3 separate regions of the Homo sapiens genome follow, and regions 1 and 2 are each linked to region 3. The links are contacts of gene promoters, found by promoter capture Hi-C in human tissues and cell types (Jung and others, 2019). All regions are on one chromosome and are shown on one strand. The core of a region is centred on a gene start or on the middle of the fragment in contact, and the rest is flanking DNA. Distances in the headings are between cores, read along the strand shown. Region 1 overlaps LINC01448 (long intergenic non-protein coding RNA 1448). Region 2 has its middle 140 kb from the start of LINC01448. Region 3 holds the start of GLI3 (GLI family zinc finger 3).

The links. The method cuts DNA at HindIII sites, captures the fragments that hold promoters and counts their contacts. A contact is called where the count stands out against the background at its distance.
Region 1: a fragment that was not itself captured here is called in contact with the fragment with the promoter of GLI3 in region 3 in 1 of the 25 tissues and cell types used here (heart left ventricle).
Region 2: a fragment that was not itself captured here is called in contact with the fragment with the promoter of GLI3 in region 3 in 1 of the 25 tissues and cell types used here (mesenchymal stem cells).

What each region holds. Positions count from the first base shown.
Region 1 is chr7:42,698,287-42,703,177 of GRCh38, reverse strand. The region is part of intron 1 of LINC01448 (long intergenic non-protein coding RNA 1448); the gene reads left to right. Among named protein-coding and RNA genes, the nearest start is that of LINC01448, 5.7 kb to the left of the region's middle. The HindIII fragment of the contact is 4,607 bases long and covers 1-3,841 here.
Region 2 is chr7:42,563,502-42,568,581 of GRCh38, reverse strand. No RefSeq gene overlaps it. Among named protein-coding and RNA genes, the nearest start is that of LINC01448, 140 kb to the left of the region's middle. The HindIII fragment of the contact is 3,800 bases long and covers 425-4,224 here.
Region 3 is chr7:42,235,677-42,240,544 of GRCh38, reverse strand. It overlaps GLI3 (GLI family zinc finger 3), which reads left to right and starts at 3,336. Exons shown (of 15, transcript NM_000168.6): 1 at 3,336-3,574. RefSeq lists an enhancer at 2,611-3,592. The HindIII fragment of the contact is 7,383 bases long and covers 1-4,868 here.

The sequences.
Region 1 (4,891 bases), core at 289-2,788, 460 kb before region 3:
CTACCTTCAACCTGCCCAGAAATTATAGCAGAAAAGATAAGAGAAGTTGTGAAGAATGGCTCTATACTGAAGGTGTACGCAGTTGCCAGGAACTATATATAAAAGCTTTTATGTAATCCCACAGCAATCCTACAAATAGTTATGATTAGACTTATTTTACAGATGGAAAAAAAATGAGGGTTAGAGATGTTATTTTAATTAGAAAGCCAAGGTTGCACAGCTAGTAAGTTGCTAATTGTGAGCCAAACTGAGGCCCTTCTGTTTCCAGTGTTCGAGTGCTTGTGAAGCTGCTCTAAGTGGGCAGGGCAAGTGGGAGCCCTTGCCTCTGCAGGGACAGAGCACTGGGGATGCCTGCATGGTGGGGTGCCTGAAAGTCTCTTGAATTTCTAAGCTAGAACTTGCAAATCTGTCCTTATTTCCCCCTACTTCAGAGTTTGCCTACAATTCAGTTGCCTGCTGACTTGGATGAGTACTCAGGGGAATACTTTTGATTTTTGTGTCCTGGGGCTACCTAGTCCAATAATATGGAGTGCTGTGAGAGACACTAGCATAGCTTTTCATAGAACAACCTTCAACAATGTTTAAAGAAACCTGTAATGAAACAACTTGAACCAGCATTACCCCGTTTTGCTGATTTCAGCAAATGGGCCCCAACTTGAAAACATGTCACTATTCAAAGCTCATTTTTAGGTTGGTTGTTTAAAATTCAGATCACATTTTCAGAAATGGTATTATAAATGGCAGTTAGGCTTCCAGGCTACCTTATAAAAACCTACTTACCACATAACATAGCTGGAATACTTTGTATTTATAATAAAAAATGGTAGAGAATAATACTATTGTAATGCTACAAATTAAAATAAGTAATGATGGTGGGCTAATTAACTTTTATGTAATTCGTGTGGCCTCTAGCTTGAGGAAACACAGTGTAACAGCTATGAGCTTGCTCTGGGGTTAGAACATCTGGTTCAAATACTAGCTTTATGGCCTACTTATTGGTGTGACCAAGGGACAAGGTATAACTCACTGAGCCTCAGTTTACTCAACTATAAAATGGGGATAAAAACACCTCATAGGGTTGATGTGAGCATTAAGTGAGATAATATGTCTAAAGCGTTGGTGTCATAGAGCTTGACACCTACAAAGTTCCTGGGGTATGATAACTGTTGTGGACATGATTGATACCTGCTGATCATTAAGTCCTTCCCACTGAACGGACACTGTGCCAAAGATGTTGCCTACAATTTAAACCTATTAGCCCAGTGAGGAATTAGTCCCATTTTTACAAATGTGTGATTGAGGTGCTCTGAGATTAAGCAACTTGCCCAAGGTCACATCAAAACATGTCAACTTGTCTAGACCACAGGGTACCCAGATATTTGGTCACACGTTATTCTGGGTGTGTCTGTGAGGATGGTTCTGGATGCAATTGACATGTGAATTGGTGAACTGAGTAAAGCACAGTGCCCTCCTCAATGTGTGTGGGGCTCATTGAATCTGTTGAGGGCCTGATTGGAACAAAAGAGCTGAGGAAGGGAGAACTCTCTCTCTCTCTGTGAGTGTCTTTGAGCTGGAACAGGGCTCTTCTCCTGCCTTCAAACTTTGACTGGAAGTTATGCCATCAACTCTCCTGCTTCTCAGGGCTTCAGACTTGGACTGGAATCGCATTATCAGCTCTCCTGGGTTTCTAGCTTGTCAACTGCAGATCTTGGACTTCTCAACCTCCATAATCTCATAAGTCAATTTCTTATAATAAATCTCTTTAGGTAATGATAGATGAAAGATAGATGGAGGGATAGATAGATAGATGAATAGATAGATAGATAGATAGATAGATAATCCTATTGGTTCCATTTCCTGGGAAAGCTTTGATGAATATAGTCACAGAGATGGAAAGTGAAAGAATGAGGCCTGGCATCCAGGTCTATAGGTTTGAAAGCTGAGAATCCTCTGAGGTCTGGCTGTGACTCCCTTTGGGTCCATGGTTGGACAGCCCAGTTCTTACTCTGTGCCGGGTGGCACTGCCCAAACCAGGAATGGGGACTGTCAGGATTATCAGGGCCAGAAAGAAGGAGGAGAAATAGGAAAGAGCAAGTAATCATGTGAGCCAAGGCAGAAATGGGTCCCCAGTTCTTATCAATTGTTGCTTAATTTAACTTTGGAGTTTCACCAAGTTTTATCAAAGACTCCTTTCAACTTCTTCCAAAACTTGATGGTAGGAGCCAAAAGTCCTTCAAGGTCACATGACTTTATGGCCTCCAGCACCATGCCTGGCACATAGCAGGTATACGAGAAACCCCATTAACTCTGAGTAAGATGTCACAGCACTTACATAATTTTTCTGCTATTTCCAATGACTTCAGATTCATTGGGAAGCAGTAATGAAGGATTTGATTTCTAGAGGTCTCTTATCTGTCAGAGCTCCACATTGCCACCACCTACCTTCAAAGTGACTTCTCTATTAGGGAGCAGGGGGACGGTTTCGCTAACCATAGATGCTAAGACAGAAATTTAAAAATGCAGTACTCCCACGCTGAACCCAAGTTCTATGTTTTCCCTGACCAGAAGGAGTCTCTCTCCCACTTTACTCACTTGGCTCCCAGCTTTTCCATTTCAGGAACTGATCCTCACCAGATGGTGTTTAACTATTGTCAATGCAATGATTATGTTTATTTATCTAAATGTCCCTGAAGCTTCGACTGATGAACTTGGCTTTATTCATCTCTCTTCTGACTCAGTAAATTCTCTAGAATATAATATTTACAATCTAAGCTTAATAGAACCTCACGACATTGAAACATGATATGATTTTTTAAAACACAGATTAATAAATAAATCAGTACAAAAATTAAATACATGAGGATGAAGAGAAAGAAAGTGATCACAGAAAATCTGGAAAACAAAAAAGTAAAAAGCAGATGAAGCTTTCTTAAGTAGCACAAGCTAAAGAGAACAATGACCATTGGCACTCTGCAGTCATGCTTTCTGCTCTGTTATTTTTAACTTTTTATTGTTTTTGTTTGTTTGGTTAACATGGTTTCTTTTTCCTTTGCCAATTTGTAATAAATGAAGTAAAAGAGATTTTGTTAGAGTATTAACATGAGGTTCAAAAGTATCTGCTGCTCCTTCTGTTTCTTCGGACCAGCCTCGCTGCCTTCACCACCACCAGTGCCAGCTGCTGTCCTGCAGGCACTGACGCTGCTGTGTGGCCCAGGCTGGAGCTTCCCTATCACCATCGTCTCTGCATTTCTCACTTGTGAAAATCCTGGAAAACCCAGGATGCTGAAAATATTCAACTCAGTGTTTCTCCACTGGAATTCACTAGTTTCATGTTGTTACCTCGGTTTCCTGAAAGGCTGAGGTCAATCTTGAAAAGGTGACAGACAGCCTTATCTACTCGGAACCTGGCTGCTCTGTTCTTTGGAACCTGGCTGCTCTGTTCTTTCGTCCCTTCCACGTGCTTTTTCTCTGTACAGAACTGCTGACACTGAAGCAGATATTTGTACATGGAAATGATACACAGAATGCTGAAAGAGACTGGAATCTCTCCCCTTATCTACCTCCATGTGGCTGCTGACAACAGAGATATATAACTTCTGGGGTACATCCAACACATGAAAGGTTAGAACATCCGTATATAACCCACTACTTTCTTTCAAGAGGAGTTTCCTAATTTTTGCAATCACTTGGCAGGTCTATATTTCACTGCTTTATCCACTTTCTCCCCGCCCACCCCCCAACCCCGCTGATTGCTGATATAAATGTGGGTAGCAAAGGATCATTCCTAAGACTTTTGCCTGGGTTTTATAGTTGCTACCAACAATTTTGCCACAAAAACTACAAATAAAAATAGGCTCTGCAATGAATAAAGTAAACAAGGGGCTTGTAGAACCCCATGAATTGGCGTCTAGAAAATGGGCTTTTCATCTGTGTGCAGGCTCTTGGCAAAATATGTGCATGTTCACTAACCCATATGCTAAATTACTAAGTTTTACCGCATTTTAAATTATTTCACGTCCAACCCATATTTGCAGAGATATGTGGCAATCATCCAATTTTTTTTTCCTTTTTGGCTTAAGTTTTCCCCTTCTATGGATAAGAACAGAGGCAGACTTAAAGTAGAACTCTATTAGGAAAAATCTGCACGCTGCATAGGCTAACTGCAAATATAATACTTTAGTGTGTCTAGCAGTTGTGGATTGAAATGTGAAGTTGCCAAAAAAAATGTTTAGGGCAATTCTTTATACCTATTAATGAATGACTCCCAGGAGAAGGAAATAAAGTAAAACTCAGCATATGCCAACAGCTGGTGTGAATATGAAAAGTCATCTGGCTTGATTAAAGTCAGCAAACTTTGCTCCCCTGTCCTATCATACATTCAAAGTAGAATGATGCTGGAGGTATGACTAACAGCAGCGAGATTAACTTTAGAACAAAACTAAACCTCTGGATAAATGCTATCTGCCAAAGAAATAGGCCTGAACGTCTGTACACATGTTCCTGTGACCATACCAATTCCCCAAACTTCTCTAGGATCCGTCTTTTGTGTCAGTTTGAGCCATATAGAAAAATTATGCTTGCTATTTTCTGATAATCAAATATACTTCCAAGGATCTATTATAATTGATTATATTATCAAGCTGGATCTCCTTATGGATTATAAATAGGTCTATTAAAAACAACCAAACACATGTAGTAATTGACTACCTTGATCATTGCCTGTGGATGAATGTTAACCTATGCCATGAGGGCAGAAGCTTGAGTTCCACAATTTGAAATGTCCAGGCACCTCTGGAGGGAATGTGAGGAAGGCCTGCCATGGTTCTATTTGCATTGACACAGACAGCCATCAAGAAAGCAAGACTTTTAGAAAAGACCCTAGGTACTAAGG
Region 2 (5,080 bases), core at 1,075-3,574, 330 kb before region 3:
ATTTGGGTTGTTACCCAGCCATCACAAAACCATGAAGTTGCAAAGTTGACCTTTGTTGTCATTTGGTACCCCTTTTCTGCCCAAGTCCTACACCTACCTTATCTGTCAGGGCTTTACAGCTTTCTCCATGATTCCCAGATTCTTCCCTCTGTGATCCTCATCTGTAACCACTCATCCAGTTAGTGTGCCACAAACCTGTGGGTACATGCCAAGTCACCTCAGTTTCTCCAGTAGACTGGTTTTTGGAGACAGATTTTAGACCACATATGTGTAGAGTCATATTTGGGTACAAGCATGCACTTCTGAACAGGGCTGCTACATTCAACATTCCAAGAGTACAGTTTTTGACCATCAATTTCTTTTGCATTACAATTTATAAGGCTTGGACTCTAGGAAATAATCCCAGGACCTTTGTAATTCCTGCTGGGCTCTCTATTCCTGCTTTTTCACTCCATGGTATTCTAACTATTGGCCTATCCCATGCTGTGTTGGTTAGATAAAAGTGTACAAACATAAAAAGTAACAGAAAAGGCTGGAACAATTTACCAAAGACACATCAGTAAGTAAATTAATTCTATATCAAGTAGAAATCCTTGCTTATAGCATTAGCACTCCAGAATTTGTGCAACCCTTCTCTCTTACCTAAACTACATGTTTATTTCTCATTTCCTCAGGGCTCTGCTAAATGAATCATTATCTGATCTCTGAAAAGTCATTTCATTAGATTATTAATGCTCAGCATTATTTAATATCTTCTCCCAGAAAATATTTGCATTTTGAGAGGTTCCCTCAGTGTCTTAATCAAAATATTGATCAATAAGTTAATTTTAGGCATCATTCTGGACATTTAGGAGACATATTAAATCTTAGAGAAAGCCACCTATGCTTAGTCCTATTCTAATTTGTGGTTCTGATCATTAGGAAGTTTTTGAACCCATCCCCAAGAAAATGTTCCAAGCGTGGTTAGTGAGGTACCTGCTTTAGATCCAGTGGCCACAGTTCAGCTTCCAGACTTTATACCCCATGGCATTGTAACCCTGGACATATATATTGGCCCTCTCTCTAAATGATTCTTGCCATGGCAAGAAACATCATTAGAATTTGCCGTAAGTCATTTGTTACAGATTGGAAGTGCCCCACTGAGAAACCCCTTAAATATGAAATATTTATTTACTAAGAAATGCCTGCGTTTTTCAACTACTCATTACAATGGGATTTAGAAAAGTCATCCTGTTGTTGATGACAAAGGAAGTGACACACAGAACGGGTGTGGATAAATACCAGCAAGGGCTTTGCTCTCTCGGAGTTGGCCTAGTGTTGTTATTTGGCAAGCTTTCTTTTTTTCCCTAGCTGGTTTATTCATCTTCTGTTTACAGAATCTTGAGCCTCTATTTATACTTTAAAGGCAACAGAACTTTACTTAGTTTCTAAGGCAGCATTGCCTTAGGAAGATCATAGAACATATCCTGAGTGTGGCATTCGACCTTTAAAGATGGATTTGTTGTTCAACCCCAGAGGTGGATCTCTGCAGCATATTATTTTAAAGAGGGCAGTGTAGTCCACTTCACCGCAACCTAGAAAATAGCAAGCTATTTGCTCTCCGGCAGTGACCATTTTTTCCTAAACAAATGGAGATAATTGTCTATTTAATTTATGACTTGGGGCAAGTCACTTATTGCCTGAAAATGTTCATTGGAAAAGCCTGGCATTTTCAGACTAAAATATGCTATAATTTGGGCCACAGTTGGTTATTTATTTTAATCTAATCATCTTCTTTCATTTTTATATCATCAATATTGATTAAAGATATATATTTTTAAAAAACAGCTTCTTCCTGTTTCTACTAAATTACCTATTAAAGGCCCAGAAAAACATAAACATTCATAACAACAGAGAACATTAGAACTTACAAACAGCCCATTGCCAGAATATGCGGTAAATTTCTACTAATTACAAGGATGAAATAACTAGTTTGAAGTAAAAGGACCTTGATTAGGCCAAAAGCCAAGTGGTGAGTGTCAGAGATTAGGTTTCATGAGTCTGTAAGTAAGAAAAAAAAAAGGGTCCCACCTAAAGCAATACAGAACATCAAAAAATGGAGAGGCATTTTAGGTTAGAAACTTTTAAGGAAAAACAAATCTTATGCAGTAGCAACAACAGGTTTGGAATAACAAGAGCATTCACTAGATATTTGGTAAAATTTTTAATAAATGAACCTATTAGCCAGTCATTGCTAAAAATATCTGGTTTTTGTCCTGCTTTACCTGAGGAAAGTTAATGAAATTGATCTGAAAGAAGATTAAGAGTCTCTGAGAGATACCATCTACTCATCCTGTCAACACTGCAACTTACTATTACAGTAAGAAAATACAAAAGCATCCCTGAGAATAGAAATAAATATATTCCTTAGGTTTAAAGATTGCTAGGAAGAATCTAACGGCATTTTCTTAATATATGTAATAGTTTGGAATATTTTCCATTCTTACTCTAATTAACATTTATGAAATTAACAGGTTAGAAGAAAAAGTTCTAAGGTTTCTCCTTCAAAAATCATGTCCTAAACTTCAAGTTTAAAATTGACCCTCATGGTAGCCCATGACAAAGCTTCTCCAAAATGCCTACTAAATACCCCCAAAGAGGAATTCCACTGAAAGTGATAGCAGTGTAGGTTGTTTCAGATCAACAATCAGGCAGAATACAAGTCGAAAAACGGACAAAATACTTTAAAAAATCTGCTTGAAAGTATCAGAAATCTGTCAAGGTAATGATAGTTTCAAGATCAAGATTTGAAAGAAAAGGGAAATCAAGTGATTGCCAATTTCAGAATGAAAAGCTGTATGTGAATGGCCAAGAGGCTGAGCAGGTCTTTGGCAAATACAATGAGGTAGAAAGACAAAAGTTGCAGTTTAGAGACCAGGAAAGAAAGACCCTGGTAAAAATGCCAGCTTTTCACTTACTATCCTAAAGGCTACATCTTAGAAGTAATGGTAAAATGGAAAGAAGAGTCCTCACAAGGACTGAAACCAAATTTGAGTCTTCTAAGTTTCTAATAGATTAATATAATGTGACTCTAGTTTAGTTGTCTACCTGAAGCAAAAGTAAATCCTATTATTCTTAATGGAACATCATATAACACCTTAAAACTCCATTCTATTTTCTACAACACAATGTCTATACACAAACAAAAATAATCAGGCATACAAGAAGATAATAATTGGCCGGGCGCGGTGGCTCACGCCTGTAATCCCAGCACTTTGGGAGGCCGAGGCGGGTGGATCATGAGGTCAGGAGATCGAGACCATCCTGGCTAACAAGGTGAAACCCCGTCTCTACTAAAAATACAAAAAATTAGCCGGGCGCGGTGGCGGGCGCCTGTAATCCCAGCTACTCGGGAGGCTGAGGCAGGAGAATGGCGTGAACCCGGGAAGCAGAGAGCTTGCAGTGAGCCGAGATTGCGCCACTGCAGTCCGCAGTCCGGCCTGGGCGACAGAGCAAGACTCCGTCTCAAAAAAAAAAAAAAAAAAAAAAAAAAAAAAAAAAAAAAAGAAGATAATAATTAATCAAAGCACAGCAGAAAAACATACAATAGAAATAAATCAGTAGGAAATTTGATTTTGATAAATGATATTTGATTTATCAGACATGAACATTTAAATAACTATGCACATATACTGTGTGAAATGGTAAACTGAATATACTCATTGCCCAAAATTGATAAATAGATTGAAAAACATACCAATCAAAATATCAGTAGGCTTTTCGAATGGAAATTCATAAAATACATAAAATATGTATGGAAATGCAAAGGATCTAGTATAGTCAAAATAATTTTGAAAAAGAAAAAATATTGGAGTATTTATACTACATAAACAGAATAGAGTATGGAAATATACCTATACTTTGTGGCCACACTTATTTGACAATGTGCCAAAGAAACTCAATAAGGGAAAGAAAGTGTTTCCAATGAAACGTTCTGAGGCAATTAGATGTCCACATGGAGAAGATGAACTTCAGTCCCTATCTCACACCACATACAAATCTATTATTTATTTATTTATTTATTTGTTTGTTTGTTTGTTTTTCTTTTATTTCAATAGGTTTTTGGGAAATAGGTAGTATTTGGTTAAATGTGTAAGTTCTTTAGTGGTGATTTCTGAGATTTTGGTGCACCCGTGACCCGAGCAGTGCACACTGCACCCAATGTGTAGGCTTTTATCCCTTACCACCTTCCCACCTTTTCCTCCGGGTCCCCAAAATTCGTTGTATCATTCTTTATGTTCTCATAGCTTAGCTCCCAAGTGAGAACATACAATGTTTGGTTTTCCATTCCTGAGATACTTCACTTAGAATAATGGCCTCCAACTCCATCCAGATTGCTGTGAATGCCATTATTTTGTTCCTTTTTATGGCTGAGTAGCATTCCATAGAATATATGTACTGCATTTTCTTTTTTTAAAATTTCAATAGATTTTTGGGGAACAGGTGGTGTTTGGTTACATGAATAAGTTCTTTAGTGGTGATTTCTGAGATTTTGGTGCACCCATCTCCTGAGCAGTGGACACTGTACACAATGTGTAGTCTTTTATCCCTCATCTCCCTCCCATCCTTTCCCCTGAGTCCCAAAAGTTCATTGTATCATTCTTATGCCTGCCCGTCCTCATAGCTTAGCTCCCAGTTATGAGTGAGAACATACGATGTTTGATTTTCTCATCCTGAGTTCACTTAGAATAATGGTCTCCAATTCCATCCAGGTTGCTGCAAATGCCATTATTTTGCTCTTTTTTTTGGCTGAGTACTATTTCATAGTGTACATATATATATATATGGCACATTTTCTTTATCCACTTGTTGATTGGTGGGCATTTGGGCTGGTTCCATATTTTTGCAATTGTGAATTGTGCTGCCATAAACATGTGTGTGCAAGTATCTTTTTTGTATAATGACTTCTTTTCCACTGGATAGATAACCCAGGAGTGGGATTGCTGGATCAAATGGTAGATTTATTAATACTTTTAGTTCTTTAAGGAATTTCCACACTGTTGTCCACAGTGGTTGTACTAGTTTACATTCCCATCAACGG
Region 3 (4,868 bases), core at 2,087-4,586:
CCAGATTGACAGCCACCACCAGAAGCCAGTAAGAGGCAAGGGAGAAATTTCTTTTCCAGGTTTCAGAGGGAGTGTGGCCCTGCAAGACACCTTACTTTTGGACTTCAAGCCTCTAGAAACTATAGGACAATACATGTCTGTCCTTTAAGCCATCCAGTTTTTGGTACTTTGTTACCATGGCCCTAGAAAACAAATGCAAGTATCTTCAAGTATCTCCTACTTCACTGTTGCAACAACAAGAAAGAAAGTCTGTCTTAAAAGCTTAACTATTCTGAGGACTTACTATATTAAAATTTCTTAAGATATCTGCATTTGAAAAGAGAACTGATGAGAGATGGCAATAAGTCAATCTATGATAGAATTTCAGACATCAAGGAAGGGCAGTGCACAGAATCCTGTAAGTCTCTTAGTGCTGTGTATCACTACAAACAAAGGTTGTAGCATTGTCTTTCTGGGTGTCTTTGGGTTTTTACAGATGTCTCAGGAGCAACTGCAGGAAAGGGAAAGAGAGAAAGGCTTAGGGGGATTGGGCTCCGAGACCTCACTCCAATTTCAACCATAATAACTCTTCTATATTTTGGGATTCTACGTAAGATTTAATTTGGAAAGCGTTCTGGTGTTAACACAGAGAGAAAGTCACTGCATTATGACATTATTTAACCCACACTCAGGCAAAGTGGGTTTTTTACCCCTCCACTGTTTCTGCAAAATGTGCCTACTTATATGTATGGGTTTACCATTAAAGCAGAGTTGGACACATAAGAGACACAGCATTATTCTTCCTCTTTTTTGTTTAGCTATTGTGACGGGCATAGGGGGAAAGATTAGCTGCTTTTGCTTTGTTCTTGTCTTTTAAGAACTGAAAAATCAAGATCTTCATGATTCAAAATGTGCTATAAGACTGAAGTAAGAGTCGAAATATCTAGTTTATTCTATTATTTGATGATTTATTGGCTGTCTTTCTTTGTATTTATTTTTTGCCATTGGGTGAACAGAGTAGGCTATCAGGATGTACTATTTGTATTCATGTGATTGAGGCAGAAGCAGTACATGAATACTAAAAACAATTGTAACTGATGCTGGGAGTATATAAAGGAAAGAGTGGCTTGCAATTCTCTTCAATTGTAAAAGCATAATTCTTACACACTTGTAGCCCTCTATACTTTTCCATGTATTTCTCATTGGAAACCCTCAGCCATCCTGGGAGGTACGCGACCTGGCACTCCTAACACTATCCCCTAGATGGGCTCAGAGCCTATGGAGGCTCAGAGAATCCTCCCAGGCCTGAGGCCAGTTAGTGAGCGCGGAGATGGGGCTGCCACAGGGCTTCTGAGTCTCGTGCTCTCTGCGATGAGTCAGTGGTGTTTTGTTTTTTCCTGAGCCGTGAGGTCGAGGGAAATCTTAAAACAAATGGCTAACTAGGGCCTTTAGCCCCACCTTACCTCCACCACTTCCACCATAAAACCTTAAGTCTGTCTCTGCACTTGTCATGTCATTGTGACAAGGAAGGAGTCCCAAGAAACAAACAATGAATACCACCCTCAATTTCGTTAAAAGATTCTTCAGTTAAGCATTTGAATCTCAAAATGCTCTTCAAATTCTAATAGCTCATCATTCATCCACCCACACTCTTCCTTCAGTCAAGACACTTGGCGGCAACGCCACACAAGCAACCCGGAGCTCCGGGGCACTTCTGGCTGGGTGGACCCGGCTTAACCAGAAAGAGGGGATGTTGGAATGTCACAGGGGCTTTCTTTTCTTTCTTTTTCTTCCTGTGTTTCCCCCCGAGAACTCCTTTTTTAAGTTACATGTCCAGGTTGGATATATTAAAATGACGCAGATGAACAAGGACTGGATGGTCGAGGAAGGAGGCCAAATAACTTTTACTAGCATGGGCCTCTGAAAATGAAGCAGGGACAGAGACACTTTGTAGCTCAAGGAAAAGCGGCACGTTAGAGACCAGGCTCCAAGCCTGGGGTCTTTGTTTTTGTGTCTTTTATAAAGTGGCCCATAGGGACAGCAGGCTGTGTGGTGGGAGCTCCTCCTCGCTTCGCGGATTTGGCCCCGAGGGCAGACGAGTCCGGTGGAGAGAAAAACCCTGAACTTCCAAAGGCATCATCCCGCGAGAGGGAGTTTCGGGGATGGCTTTGGGAAAATGTAAAACAAGGAGATGGGGAGCCAAGGATGGGGGGCGGTGGTAATCAGAGAAGCCTTAAAAGAATAAAGGGGAGTCCAGCCCTTGAGCAAGAGTGAGAAAGAGAGGCTGGGTGGGAGAAGATGGGAGCAGACAGGACGCAGCACGAGTGCCAGGGCGCGCATTTGGGGGGTGTCCTGGCGGTGTGGAGAGAGAAGAGAGAGGGCGCGGGTGACATCACGCCCGGGCCCCCTTCCCCTCGCCGGGTGGGTGGGGCTTCGGCGCGCCGGGAGGGCGCGGGGTCAAGTAGGGGGAAGAGGAGGAGCAGGCATGAATGTGTCTGTGTGAAGACCGGGGAGGGGCGGAGGAGGAGGAGGAGGAGGAGAAGGAGGAGGAGGAGGAGGAGGCGGCGGCGGCGGCGGCGGCGGCGGCGGAGGGCGGGGAGGGAGCGCGCGCGTGGCTCGCGGCGCCCGGGCTCCCCCCCAGCCCCCGACCCCGGCCCGCGACGCGCCGCCTCCCAGCCGCCGCCGCCCGCCTCGCAGCTGGGACCCACTCCGGGCTTGGGGACCCGGCGGGCGGGAGAAGCGGGGGCTCCCGGCGCGGCCTGGAAGGAGCGAGAAAGCAAAAGTAAGGCGAGCAGCACTCCAAGTTTTCCCAACTTCGCCCCCTGCGGCGGCAGGCGTCCTGCTGCTCAGCGCGTCCCCTCCGAGCCCGAGAGTGGCTGAAAGAAAAGGGACTGGGCGGGGGCCGGGGCGGAGGAAGAGAGAGTGCGAGGGAGCGAGGAGAGTCCGGCAACATCTGTTAAAACTTGGGGGAGGAGGAGCGCGGGGAGGAGGAGGAAGAGGAGGAGAGAAGGGAAGGAGGGAGCGCGCGGGAGGGGAGCGCGGAGCCGAGGGACAACTTTTCCACCCCGTGAGTAGTGCAGGCGGTGCCAGGTCGGGGCGGGGGGCTTCTCCACCCAGCACGGGGCACCAGGCCGGGATGGGACCTTTTTCCAGAAAGTCGATTGGATGCCAGGAGAGGCGTACGGCTGGGGGTTTCTTTCTTTCTCTTTCCCCTCCCTCCCGCGGTTGAACCAAATCAGAACTGTCACTCAGGGCTTGTGAGTCAGAAGGGATCGGATTACACGATCCCCGAAACTGATGCCGGAGCTGCACGAGCGGGAGGGAGCGGGCAGGGGCAGCGCCACCGGCGCGCTCGCACACTCGCACTCGCGCACACCCGCCGCTCCCACTCACCCGCGCCGCTCTCCCGCCTTCCCCGCGCGCCCCGCGGCCGCCCGCGCCGCACCATGCCCGCGGCGGGCGCACCCCGCGCCCAGCCCGGCCGCTCGCGGTAGCCGTAGCCGCCCGCGGCCGCGCGGAGCGGGGAGCCGCCAGCCTGCGCCCCGTCCGCGGGTCTATGGGAAGTTCGGGGACTTGACAGCCGCTGCCGCCGCAGGTACGTCCCGCTCGAAGTTCTTTGTTTCGCGGACCCCGCAGCCCGCTCCTGCGGCCGCGCCCGCGCCTCCGGGGCCAGAGGTGGTCCCCAGCGTGGGGACGGGATGGAGTGAAAATGGCTGTCAAAAGGCGCCCAGATTTAGAGAGCCGCCGGTGAGGCGTCCGAGCAAGGCTTGCATTCGCTCCCTCCTCCTGGAAGGTCCTTTCCGAAGAGTCCGACCCGCGGACCGGCCGGAGACGGATTGGAGAATTTCACCTCCCGGAGGGGGGACGAAGTTTGCCGCAGTGGTGGCGGCGCCCCTCGCCTCCGCCCCCATCCAAAGGGTTCAGAAGAACTCCGCGAGCCCCGCACGCGCCTGGCTCCTTCCTTTGCGCGGTGGCGCTCTACGGCTCGGGCTTCGGGCGCGCACGGCGCTCGGGATGGGCGGAAGGAGGCGGGAGGCATGGTGGGTGCGCGCGGGGACCTCCGCCGCGGGGGCCGCCGCCGCTGGGGCTTCTCCAGCCCGGGCTATGCTTCGGAGGGCGGGGGTGTGGTGTGAGCGGATGGAGAGAGGCGCGCCTTCGTCGTCATAGAGGAAAAGTGAAAGTTGTACCATCTGTATATGATTTGGGATTCTCTTATTTCTTTTCCTTTCCAGGGGCAGCGCGCACAGACACACAAAGTAACCGTGGTCCATGCAATAATCATTTAAGGTGCCGCGTTTACACAGAGCAGCAGGGGACAGTTACTTTCTTGAGTAGCAGCGGGAAAACGGGCGGGAGAAGGCAGAGAGGGTGTAAATATTGATCCCAAACTTGCAGAGTTTGTGAAGCGACTTTTAAGCAGATTGTCCGAAGCGGACGCTCCACCCCGCACCCGGCCTTTTATCCTTTCCTGAACTTTGTGCTCCTGTCCCCCATTGCACCTCCTTCTGTAAGATGCCGTCCCCCGAGAGGCGCTGCACCCCAGGCTTCCCTGCCTGACCCCGCGTGGAAAGAGGATTAAGGAGGCTCCCTCCGCCGCTGGTCATCCTGCCCCAACTTCTCATCTCCCCAGTGCAGACTGCCGGGTAGATTCTGGCCTTGGGTACAGTGCTCATGGCCCTCTGCCAGTTTATATGTACATATATTTATGTAAAACATTTTCTCCCAGCTCTTTGCCAGCTGTTCCACATTTTCCAGCTGCCACTTCAGTTTGAAATGATGGACTGTCTGCGTCTCCAAGTCAAAGAACCCTTTAGTCAAAGGTATGGAGGGCCGGCCGCTGTGCAAATACATGGCAGTGCCATTAGCCGGGCTGGTATTATTAGTTCTAA